Regions from separate parts of the Homo sapiens genome. Here regions 2 and 3 are each linked to region 1. Evidence: promoter capture Hi-C in human tissues and cell types (Jung and others, 2019). All regions are on one chromosome and are shown on one strand. Each heading gives the region's core, a stretch centred on a gene start or on the middle of the fragment in contact. The rest is flanking DNA. Distances are from core to core; before and after follow the strand shown.

Region 1 (3,148 bases), core at 184-2,683:
GCCCTACACCCACAGGTCCTTCCAAGACCCATTTCAGATGCCACCTCCCCCAAGAAGTTCCAGTCCCCATATCCCAGTGTCTTTGGTGGCCCTGTGCCCATTTGCCTGCCCTATCTTAGCCCTCTCCACTTCACTGCAATGGTATATTCACCCATTCCTTTACAAAATCAGAATCCAGAAAGGGCAGGACACCGTCTCATTTGTCTTCGTGTCCCCAGCACCCCGGTAAGCCAGGCATAGGTAGACTTTTTTTTTTTTTTTTTTTTGAGACAGAGTCTTACTCTGTCACCCAGGCTAGAGTGCAGTGGTGCGATCTCCACTCACTGCAACCTCTGCCTCCTGGGTTCAAGCAATTCTTCTGCCTCAGCCTCTTGAGTAGTTGGAATTACAGGCATGCACCACCACACCCGGCTAATTTTTGTATTTTTAGTAGAGAGGGGTTTTCACCATGTTGGCCAGGCTGGTCTCGAACTCCCAACCTCAGGTGATCTGCTGCCTTGGCCTCCCAAAGTGCTGGGATTACAGGCGTGAGCCACTGCGCCCGGTCATATGTAGACATTTGATAAATACGTTGAATGAAAGGAAACCAACTCTCCATTCTCCCCCACCCTCCCATATAATGGGACAGGAGAAAATAAGATTTATTTGAGAGGCTGCAAATGACAGGATTAGGGAGTGGTTGGAGATATCAGGAATCCGTCTAGCTACAGGTGAGATCAGGTTTTGTTTTTTTTGAGACGGAGTCTCGCCCTGTCGCCCAGGCAGGAGTGAGTGCAATGGCGCGATCTCGGCCCACTGCAACCTCCCACTCCCGGGTTCAAGCGATTCTCCTGCCTCAGCCTCCCGAGTAGGGGGTTACAGGCGCGCCACCACGCCCGGCTAATTTTTTGTATTTTTAGTAGAGACGGGGTTTCACCGTGTTAGCCAGGATTGTCTCCATCTCCTGACCTCGTGATCCGCCCCCGTCGGCCTCCCAAAGTGCTGGGATTACAGGCGTGAGCCACCGCGCCCGGCAGAGATCAGGTTCTTAAGGGAAGTCCGGAGAAATGGGGTTTTTAAAAAACCCGAGTCCAGGCTATCTGTTTGGAGGGGTTGGGAGGCTTGGAGCTGGACCAATAACTTCTTAGGTCTTGCTTTAAGGAGTGAAGATTCTCTGTAGCGACCCTCATACCTGGGCAGTGGGAGCGGGCAGAATCCTTCTTTCTTCTCTTCTCTACACCCCCTCACTCCACCCCCACCCTTCCCCGCCGCCCGTAAACCTTAGCTTTCCCCTTTCCAACAGAGGTTTCCAGCTGTTGATGCCTGGATGGACCCGGCTGCAGGGAGGAGGAGGAAACTCTCTGTCCCTCCCTTCTTCTGCAAGTCCCCACCCTCCCTCCCTCCTCCCCCTGCGCGCTCTCGGTCTCCCTCCCTCTTTCTCCTCTAGGCTGTCCAGTCGCCTCGCAGCAGCGAGCCGCGAGCGCCCTTCTCCAGTCCCGGCTTGGAACTGAACTGTGTGAGCACGGGTCCTGGAACCCGGGCCCAGAACCGGCGAGCCCAGGTCTGAGCCCAGAGCTCAGCGGTCAGCCTCGTAGGCCCTGACTCGGAATCGAGCCGAGGCGCTGAGGTTGGAGCCGGAGAGCGTGAGAGCCGAAGAGCAGGGAGGGCGGGCCGGCTGCGCGTCCGACGAGTCGCAGAGCAGGACCGCGGAAGGCAGGGAGACGGCCGCAAGCCCAGGGCAGAGGGCAGAGGGCAGAGAGCGGCCTGGCTCGGCGGAGAGGGCGCCGCCCGGCCGGAACCAAGCTCGCCGCCCGGGACGGCGGGCCCCGTGGGGCGCGGACCCAGGGTGGCCGTGGGTCCGCAGCGACTCCCCGGCCGACGGCGGGGGGCGTGCCCCCTCCCAGCCCAGCCTCCCCAACCCGGCCCGCCCGCCGCGTCGCGGGGGCATGTGAGCGGGAAGCCTAGGCTGCCAGCCGCGAGGACCGCACGGAGGAGGAGCAGGAGCGCGGAGCCGCGAGCCCCGAGCCCCGAGCCCGGCGCCTGGCTGAGTAGTAAGTGCACCCCTCCCCGCCATGATCGCGCCGTCGCGCCCATTTCCCCAGCTCTCTGAAGTTTGACACTTGCGCCCCTACGTTTCTGGGCACCCACCGGCTCTCTTCCCTGCGAGTTTCCACCCTGTGCAAAGTTTTTCGAGGAGAGACGGACCCTCACCTACCCCCAACAACGCTGGGCAGTGGCGGCTCCTCCCTGGCCGACTTGGGTCCTTGTGGAGAGGGATGGCAGCCTCTAAGGCAGTGCGTGGCTGTGTGTGTGTTTGTGTGTGTGTGTGTGTGTGTGTGTACGCGCGCGCGCGCGCGCGTTCACCACGCGGGTCGAGCTTAGGGTGCACCCCCAACCCGCTCCTCGCCGACCGCAGAGGACTAGGTCTTTCTCATCAGCCCGACTATGCGCCTAGTTTAAGGATTTCTCAGCGGGAAGCCGAAGCGACCTGCGCGCGTCCTGCGTGGGGCTCAGGTGCCTGCGACGAGGCGCAGAGCTCCTCCACCATGGTTGCGTGGGGTGCTGGGGGACAGACGCGCTCCCCTTGCCACGGTTTCAGGGTCGTTCCCCAGCGGACCAGACCAGCGCGGCATCCTGTTTGTTTTCTGCTCCGGCTGCTCCTGTCCCACCCCCACCCCCACCGCAGGCTGCTTCTTGCTACCCCCACCTCCCGCCCTGGGATATCGTAGGTGAGCCTTTTCATCCCGATTCCGCTGCAAACGCTGATCGCGCCTAGGGGTAGGGAGATGCGGAGCGGGTAGTCGTTCAGTTCCCAGCGGCTCGCCATTGTTTTCCCACCCCGCGCGTTCCGTACGTAAACACACACGCACACACAAGGTTGTGTGTGTGCGCCGGCTCTGGCTGCTTCCCGTCCCCAGGCGCGCAGGGATCGCCCGCGGGATTCGCTCAGCTGCCCGCATGGGTCTTCAGGCTGGAGGCGCTCCAGGACTTAACTGGAGCTGGAGAGGACAAGAGACGTGGGGGTTGCCGGACAGTACCGGGCGGGGCGGTGAGCCGGGCCTGGGCGGGAAGTGAATTTTGAACTTCAGCCCTGGACCTTTCCGGGAGGACCCCGAGCGCTGGAGCGGCGGCTCCCGCCCTGGAGGGCCCGCGGCAGCTGCAAAGACTC
Region 2 (3,148 bases), core at 481-2,980, 220 kb before region 1:
GGCTTTCAGTTTCTGAAGAATAAGCTTCTGAATAGAAATACAAATCAATTTTTGCCTCCAAAGAGTTTTCCTTGAGGACCACTGCCTGGAACTTGCAGTAATCTAAAATTGAAATAGAAACAATTAGCCGGGCTTGGTGGTGGGTACCTGTAGTCCCAGCTACTTGGGAGGCTGAGGCAGGAGAATCACTTGAACCCTGGGAGGCAGAGGTTGCAGTGAGCTGAGATTATACCACTGCACTCCAGCCTGGGTAACAGAGTGAGACTCTGTCTTAAAAAAAAAAAGAAAAAGAAAAAAAGGAAAAGAAATAAATGTTACCCTTTTGATCCTTTTAATTGCCTGCTTAAATGATAGCTCTCTGTTGGACTGTCTTGATCCAAGAATAGAGAGATCATAAGTCAGTAAGAGATGAACTTCAAGTATAATGACATGTTTTTCTCCTGTGAAAACAGATAAAGTTAATAAAGTTGGTGAGATCCATGTGAAGACATTAGAAGAAATTCTTCTTGAAAGAGCCAGTCAGAAACGTGGAGAATTGCAAACTAAACTCAAGACAGAAGGACCTTCAAAAACTGATGATTCTACTTCAGGAGCAAGAAGCTCCTCCACTATCCGTATCAAAACCTTCTCTGAGGTCCTGGCTGAAAAAAAACATCGGCAGCAGGAAGCAGAGAGACAAAAAAGCAAAAAGGATACAACTTGCATCAAGCTAAAGATTGATAGTGAAATTAAAAAAACAGTAGTTTTGCCACCCATTGTTGCCAGCAGAGGACAATCAGAGGAGCCTGCAGGTAAAACAAAGTCTATGCAGGAGGTGCACATCAAGACGCTGGAAGAAATTAAACTGGAGAAGGCACTGAGGGTGCAGCAGAGCTCTGAGAGCAGCACCAGCTCCCCGTCTCAACACGAGGCCACTCCAGGGGCAAGGCGGCTGCTGCGAATCACCAAAAGAACAGGTAACAAGAGAACTTGGTCTCTAGTACCACGTCCCCACATAATATTCCAGAGGAGTGTTCCGTGGGATCTTCCTAGGAGTTGTTTGACAACCTTTCTTTACTCAGATAACGTTGAAAACACTGAATTAAATGAAGTTTTTCAGTAGTGCTATGTAGACCTATGCTATTTTGTTTTATTTTATTTTTGAGACAGAGTCTCACTCTGTCACCCAGGCTGCAGTGCAGTGGCATGACCTTGGCTCACTGTAGCCTCCACCTCCTAGGTTCAAGTGATTCTCCTGCCTCAGCCTCCCAAGTAGCTGGGGCTACAGACATGTGCCACCACACCCCGCTAATTTTTGTATTTTTAATAGAGATGGGGTTTCAGCATGTTGGCCAGGCTGGTCTCAAACTCCTCACCTCAAGTGTGATCTGCTTGCTTCAGTCTCCCAAAGTGCTGGGGTTACAGGTGTGAGCCACCATGCCCGGCCAACCTTTGCTATTTTAATGTGTATTTTGAGACTTTAGGAGCACAGATGGGCTTTATCTGTAATTTTATTTGTCCTGTCTTACTACTTTCATTAAATAAAGTTTTGTTTAACATATCTATCATGAAGTTGCAGCTTAAATAAAATAACTAATGATGTCTTTAATGTGAATACAGGGATGAAAGAAGAGAAGAACCTTCAGGAAGGAAATGAAGTTGATTCTCAGAGCAGTATTAGAACAGAAGCTAAAGAGGTAAATTTAAGATTATTGTATGGTTTTGTTCATGGCAAACAAAGGCTAGATAATTGGTAGTTTTACCTTACAATAAATTTCTAAGTACTTCATTCATATATTAGGTAAACAGTCTTTCTTTTTACTTATAATTTCTTATGAGAATTTCCTGTAGTTCTATGTATATCAGTATTCGCTGCCCTTTTAAAGTTTTTTGTTTGCCGGGCGCGGTGGCTCACGCCTGTAATCCCAGCACTTTGGGAGGCTGAGGCGGGCGGATCACGAGGTCAGGAGATTGAGACCGTCCTGGCTAACACGGTGAAACCCCGTCTCTACTAAAAATACAAAAAATAAAGTTTTTTGTTTAATTGGCCATTACTTTTTTTTAACTGAGTTTTTTCTAATGCTATGCATCATACAAAAGTTGGAAATTTTATTTTTTTTAAAACTGAACAAACCCTAAAAATATACAGCTCAGATGTAACCATCATTATCTTTTCCATGGATTTCTTCGAGCTTTTTCAGTCTTGCTCTGTTGCCCAGGCTGGAGTGCAGTGGCATGATCTCGGTTCACTGCAACCTTTGCCTCCTGGGTTCAAGCGATTCTTGTGCCTCAGCCTCCCATGTAGCTGGGATCAAAGGCATGCACCACCAAGCCTGACTAATTTTTGTATTTTTAGTAGAGACAGAGTTTCTCCATGTTGTCCAGAGTGGTCTCGAACTTCTGGCTTCAAGTGATCTGCCTGCCTTGGCCTCCCAACGTGTTGGGATTACATGTGTGAGCCACCACACTTGGCCTTCTTCGACCTTTTTGTTTATATATGCATGCATGTGAATTTGTTTAATGTTAAACCCATGTTTAGAACATAATGGAGAACTCTACAGTGTATCATTTTACAGCCTGCTTTAACTTTACCATGTTAATAATTCTTCAAGAAGTTTGTTTTTACTGACCACATGATTCTCCATTATACAAATACAGTCTTTTTCTGGACATTCAGATTTTGTTTTACACAATTTAAAGTAATATATTTGTACATAAATCTTTGTGCAGGTATTTGATTATTTAGGAATCATTAGTATTTGACTTAGAGTCATGGTTGTCTAGCCTGTGGAATCTGGGTTTTTTATTATTCCATACATCTGTAATTCTAATCTTTCATCTTTAACAGGGTATTGTCTATTTAACATCAAATAAAGAGCTTTTCTCTCAGATTCTGGATCATGTGAGATTCTGCTTAACTTAGATGTTAGCCTGGTACTTACATCATACAGGTTATTAGAGGTACCAGATTTTAATTCTGTCATTCAAATTTATCCACAGGCTTCAGGTGAGACCACAGGAGTTGACATCACTAAAATTCAAGTCAAGAGATGTGAGACCATGAGAGAGAAGCACATGCAGAAACAGCAGGAGAGGGAAAAATCAGTCTTGACACCTCTTCGGGGAGATGTAGCCTCTTGCAATACCCAAGTGGCAGAGAAACCAGTGC
Region 3 (3,148 bases), core at 339-2,838, 150 kb before region 1:
GCTTAATGATGGGGATACTTTCTGAGAAGTGCATTGTTAGATGATTTTGTTGTTGTATGAACATCATAGAATATACTGGCATAAACCTAGATGGCATGGCCTACTACACATCTAGGCTGTGTGATATAGTTTATTGCTCCTAAGATACAAACCTACAGAATACTGTAGGCAGTTGTAATAGGATGGTATGTATTTGTGTATTTAAATGTATCTAAACATAGGAAAGTACAGTAAAAACATAGTATAAAAGATTAAAAATCGTATAGGGCACTTACCAAGAATGGAGCTTGCAGGATTGGAAGTTGCTCTGGGTGAGTCAGTGAGTGAGTGAGTGGTGAGTGAATGTGAAGGCCTAGGACATTACTGTACACTGCTGTAGACTTTGTAAACACTGCACACTAGGCTGGGCATGGTGGCTCACGCCTGTAATCCCAGCACTTTGGGAGGCTGAGGCAGGTGGATCACCTGAGGTCAGGAGTTCGAGACCAGCCTGGCCAACATGGTGAGACCTTATCGCTACTAAAAATACAAAACTTAGCCGGGTGTGGTGGCTCATACCTGTAGTCCCAGCTACTTGGAAGGCTGAGGCATGAGAATCGCTTGAACTCGGTCGGTGGAGGCTACAGTGAGCCGAGATCATGCCACTGCACTCTAGCCAGACAGAGAGAGTGACAGAGGGAGACTCTGTCTCAAAAAAATAAATAAATAAAAATAAACACTGCACACTTAGTCTACACTAAATGTATTTAAAATTTTTCTTTCTTCAATAATAAATTAACCTTAACCTACTATAACTTTTTTACTTTATAAAATTATTATTATTATTATTTTTCTGACACAGGGTTCCACTTTGTCCCCCAGGCTGGAGTGCAGTGGCGCTATCTCAGGTCACTGTAGCCTCCCAGTTTCATGTGATCCTCCCACCTCAGCCTTCCTAGTAGCTGGGACTATAGGCATGCACCACCATGCCCAGCTAATTTTTGTATTTTTTTGTAGAGACAGGGTTTCACCATGTTGCCCAGGCTGGTCTTGAACTCCTAAGCTCAAGCGATCTGCCTGCCTTGGCCTCCCAAAGTGCTGGGATTATAGGCATGAACCACCACACCCAGCCTGAAAATTTCCTTTTCTTTTTTTTTTTTTTTTACTTTTTGACTCTTTCATATTAACACTTTACTTAAAACACAAACATATTATACACCTACACGAAAAATTTCTTCTTTATATCTTTATTCTATATGCTTTTTTCTATTTAAATGTTTTCTTTTTAAACATTTTTGTTAACAATGAAGACAGAAGCACACATATTGGCCTAGGCCTACACAGGATCGGGGTCATTTGTATCACTGTCTTCCCTTCCACATCTTGTCCTCCTGGAAGGTCTCCAGTTGCCACAATATGCCTGGAGCTGTCACCTCCAATGATACCAATGCCTCCTTCTGGAATTCCTCCTGAAGGACCTGCCTGAGACTGTTTTACAGTTAACTTTTTAAATATATAAATAGAAGGGGTACATTCTAAAATAACAATAAAAAGTATAGTATAGTATGTACATAAACCAGTAACATACTTATTTATCAATATCAAGTTTTTTTTATTATCAGTATTACGTATTCTCACTTATAGGTGAGAGCTAAACAATGGCTACATAGAGATATAGACAGCGGAATAACAGATATTGGAGACTCCATAAGGTAGAAAATGGGAGGGGGGTGAGGGATAAAATCCTACCTATTGTGCACAATGTATACTGTTTGTGGGATGGGTACACTAAAAGCCCAGATTTCCCCGCTATACAATATATCTATGTAAAACAACTGTACATGCACCCCTAAATATTTGAAAATAATAAGACAAAATAAAACATATTATGTACTGTACATAATTGTATGTGCTATGACTGGCAGCACAATAGATTGGTTTAGCCCAGCGTTACCACAGACATAAGAGTAATGCATTGTGCTATGACAACGGCTACAATGTGATGAGGGCCACCATGTCACTAGGTGATAGGGATTTTTCAGCTCCGTTCTAATCTTATGGAACCACCATGGTACATGGGGTCTGTCATTACCAAAATGTCATTATATGACTGTATATACTTTGGAAAAACCATTATTCTATTGTGGCTTTGAAATATGACATTTTGGCCAGGTGCAGTGGCTCACACCTATAATCCTAGCACTTTGGAAGGCCAAGGTGGGAGGATCACTTGAGGTCAGGAGTTTGAGACCCACCTGGCCAACATGGTGAAACCCCATCTCTAGTAAAAATACAAAAATTAGCTGGGCGTGGTGGTGCATGCCTGTAGTCCCAGCTATTTGGGAGGCTGAGGCAGGAGAATTGCTTGAATCTGGGAGGGGAAGTTTGCAGTGAGCTGAAATCATGCCACTGCACTCGAGCCTGGGTGACAGAGTGAGACTCTGTCTCAAAAAAAAAAAAAAAAAAGACATATGGCATTGTAAAAAATTGTAAAATTATCTTATAGCAAAGAGGGGCAATATATAAAGAAACTGAGACCCAGAGTGCTAAGTGACTTTGCCCAAAGTCACTAAATGAGAGAAAAATTTGATTCCCAGTGTCTTACATGTCTCTCAGATAAGGTTCTTAGCATGTTAAGTTGCAAGAAACAGAAATCAACTATGGCAGATTTAAACAGAAATGAAATTTATTTGGTGAATACATCTACCTAATGTATATTTACAGAGTGCTCACTAGGTACTATGTACTCTTTTAGGCACTGGGGATATGGCAGAAAGCAAATGGACAAAGTCCCTACTCTCAGGGAGCTTACATCCTAGTGGTGGAGACAGACAAACAAATGCATACACATATGCAGTTGAAGAAAAAAAATAAGGAGGAATGGTTCAGATGTTAGCAAAGAAAAATAGAGGTGAACTGGCAGGAGAGAGGAGTGCAATTTTATTTTATTTATTTATTTTATTTTTATTTATTTATTTACTCAGGCTGGAGTGCAATGGCACCATCTCAGCTCACTGCAACCTCTGCCTCCTGGGTTCAAGTGATTCTCCTGCCTCAGCCTCCCGAGTAGCTGGGATTACAGGTGCCCGCCACCACGCCTCGCTAATTTTTGTATTTTTAGTAGAGATGGGATTTCACCATGTTAGCCAGGCTGGTCTCGATCTCCTGA

What was found. Contacts are between HindIII fragments. The study calls those that stand out against the background at their distance.
Region 2: a contact is called between a fragment that was not itself captured here and the fragment with the promoter of SOX13 in region 1, in 1 of the 25 tissues and cell types used here (dorsolateral prefrontal cortex).
Region 3: a contact is called between a fragment that was not itself captured here and the fragment with the promoter of SOX13 in region 1, in 1 of the 25 tissues and cell types used here (IMR-90 fibroblasts).

Annotation. Positions count from the first base shown.
Region 1 is chr1:204,071,682-204,074,829 of GRCh38, forward strand. It overlaps SOX13 (SRY-box transcription factor 13), which reads left to right and starts at 1,434. Exons shown (of 14, transcript NM_005686.3): 1 at 1,434-2,030. RefSeq lists an enhancer at 2,113-2,805. The HindIII fragment of the contact is 26,498 bases long and covers 1-3,148 here.
Region 2 is chr1:203,846,732-203,849,879 of GRCh38, forward strand. ZBED6 (zinc finger BED-type containing 6) reads left to right here. Exons shown (of 17, transcript NM_001395895.1): 12 at 453-956; 13 at 1,600-1,676; 14 at 2,980-3,148. ZC3H11A (zinc finger CCCH-type containing 11A) reads left to right here. Exons shown (of 18, transcript NM_001376342.1): 13 at 453-956; 14 at 1,600-1,676; 15 at 2,980-3,148. Among named protein-coding and RNA genes, the nearest start is that of SNRPE, 13 kb to the right of the region's middle. The HindIII fragment of the contact is 5,303 bases long and covers 1-3,148 here.
Region 3 is chr1:203,926,343-203,929,490 of GRCh38, forward strand. No RefSeq gene overlaps it. Among named protein-coding and RNA genes, the nearest start is that of SNRPE, 66 kb to the left of the region's middle. The HindIII fragment of the contact is 9,626 bases long and covers 1-3,148 here.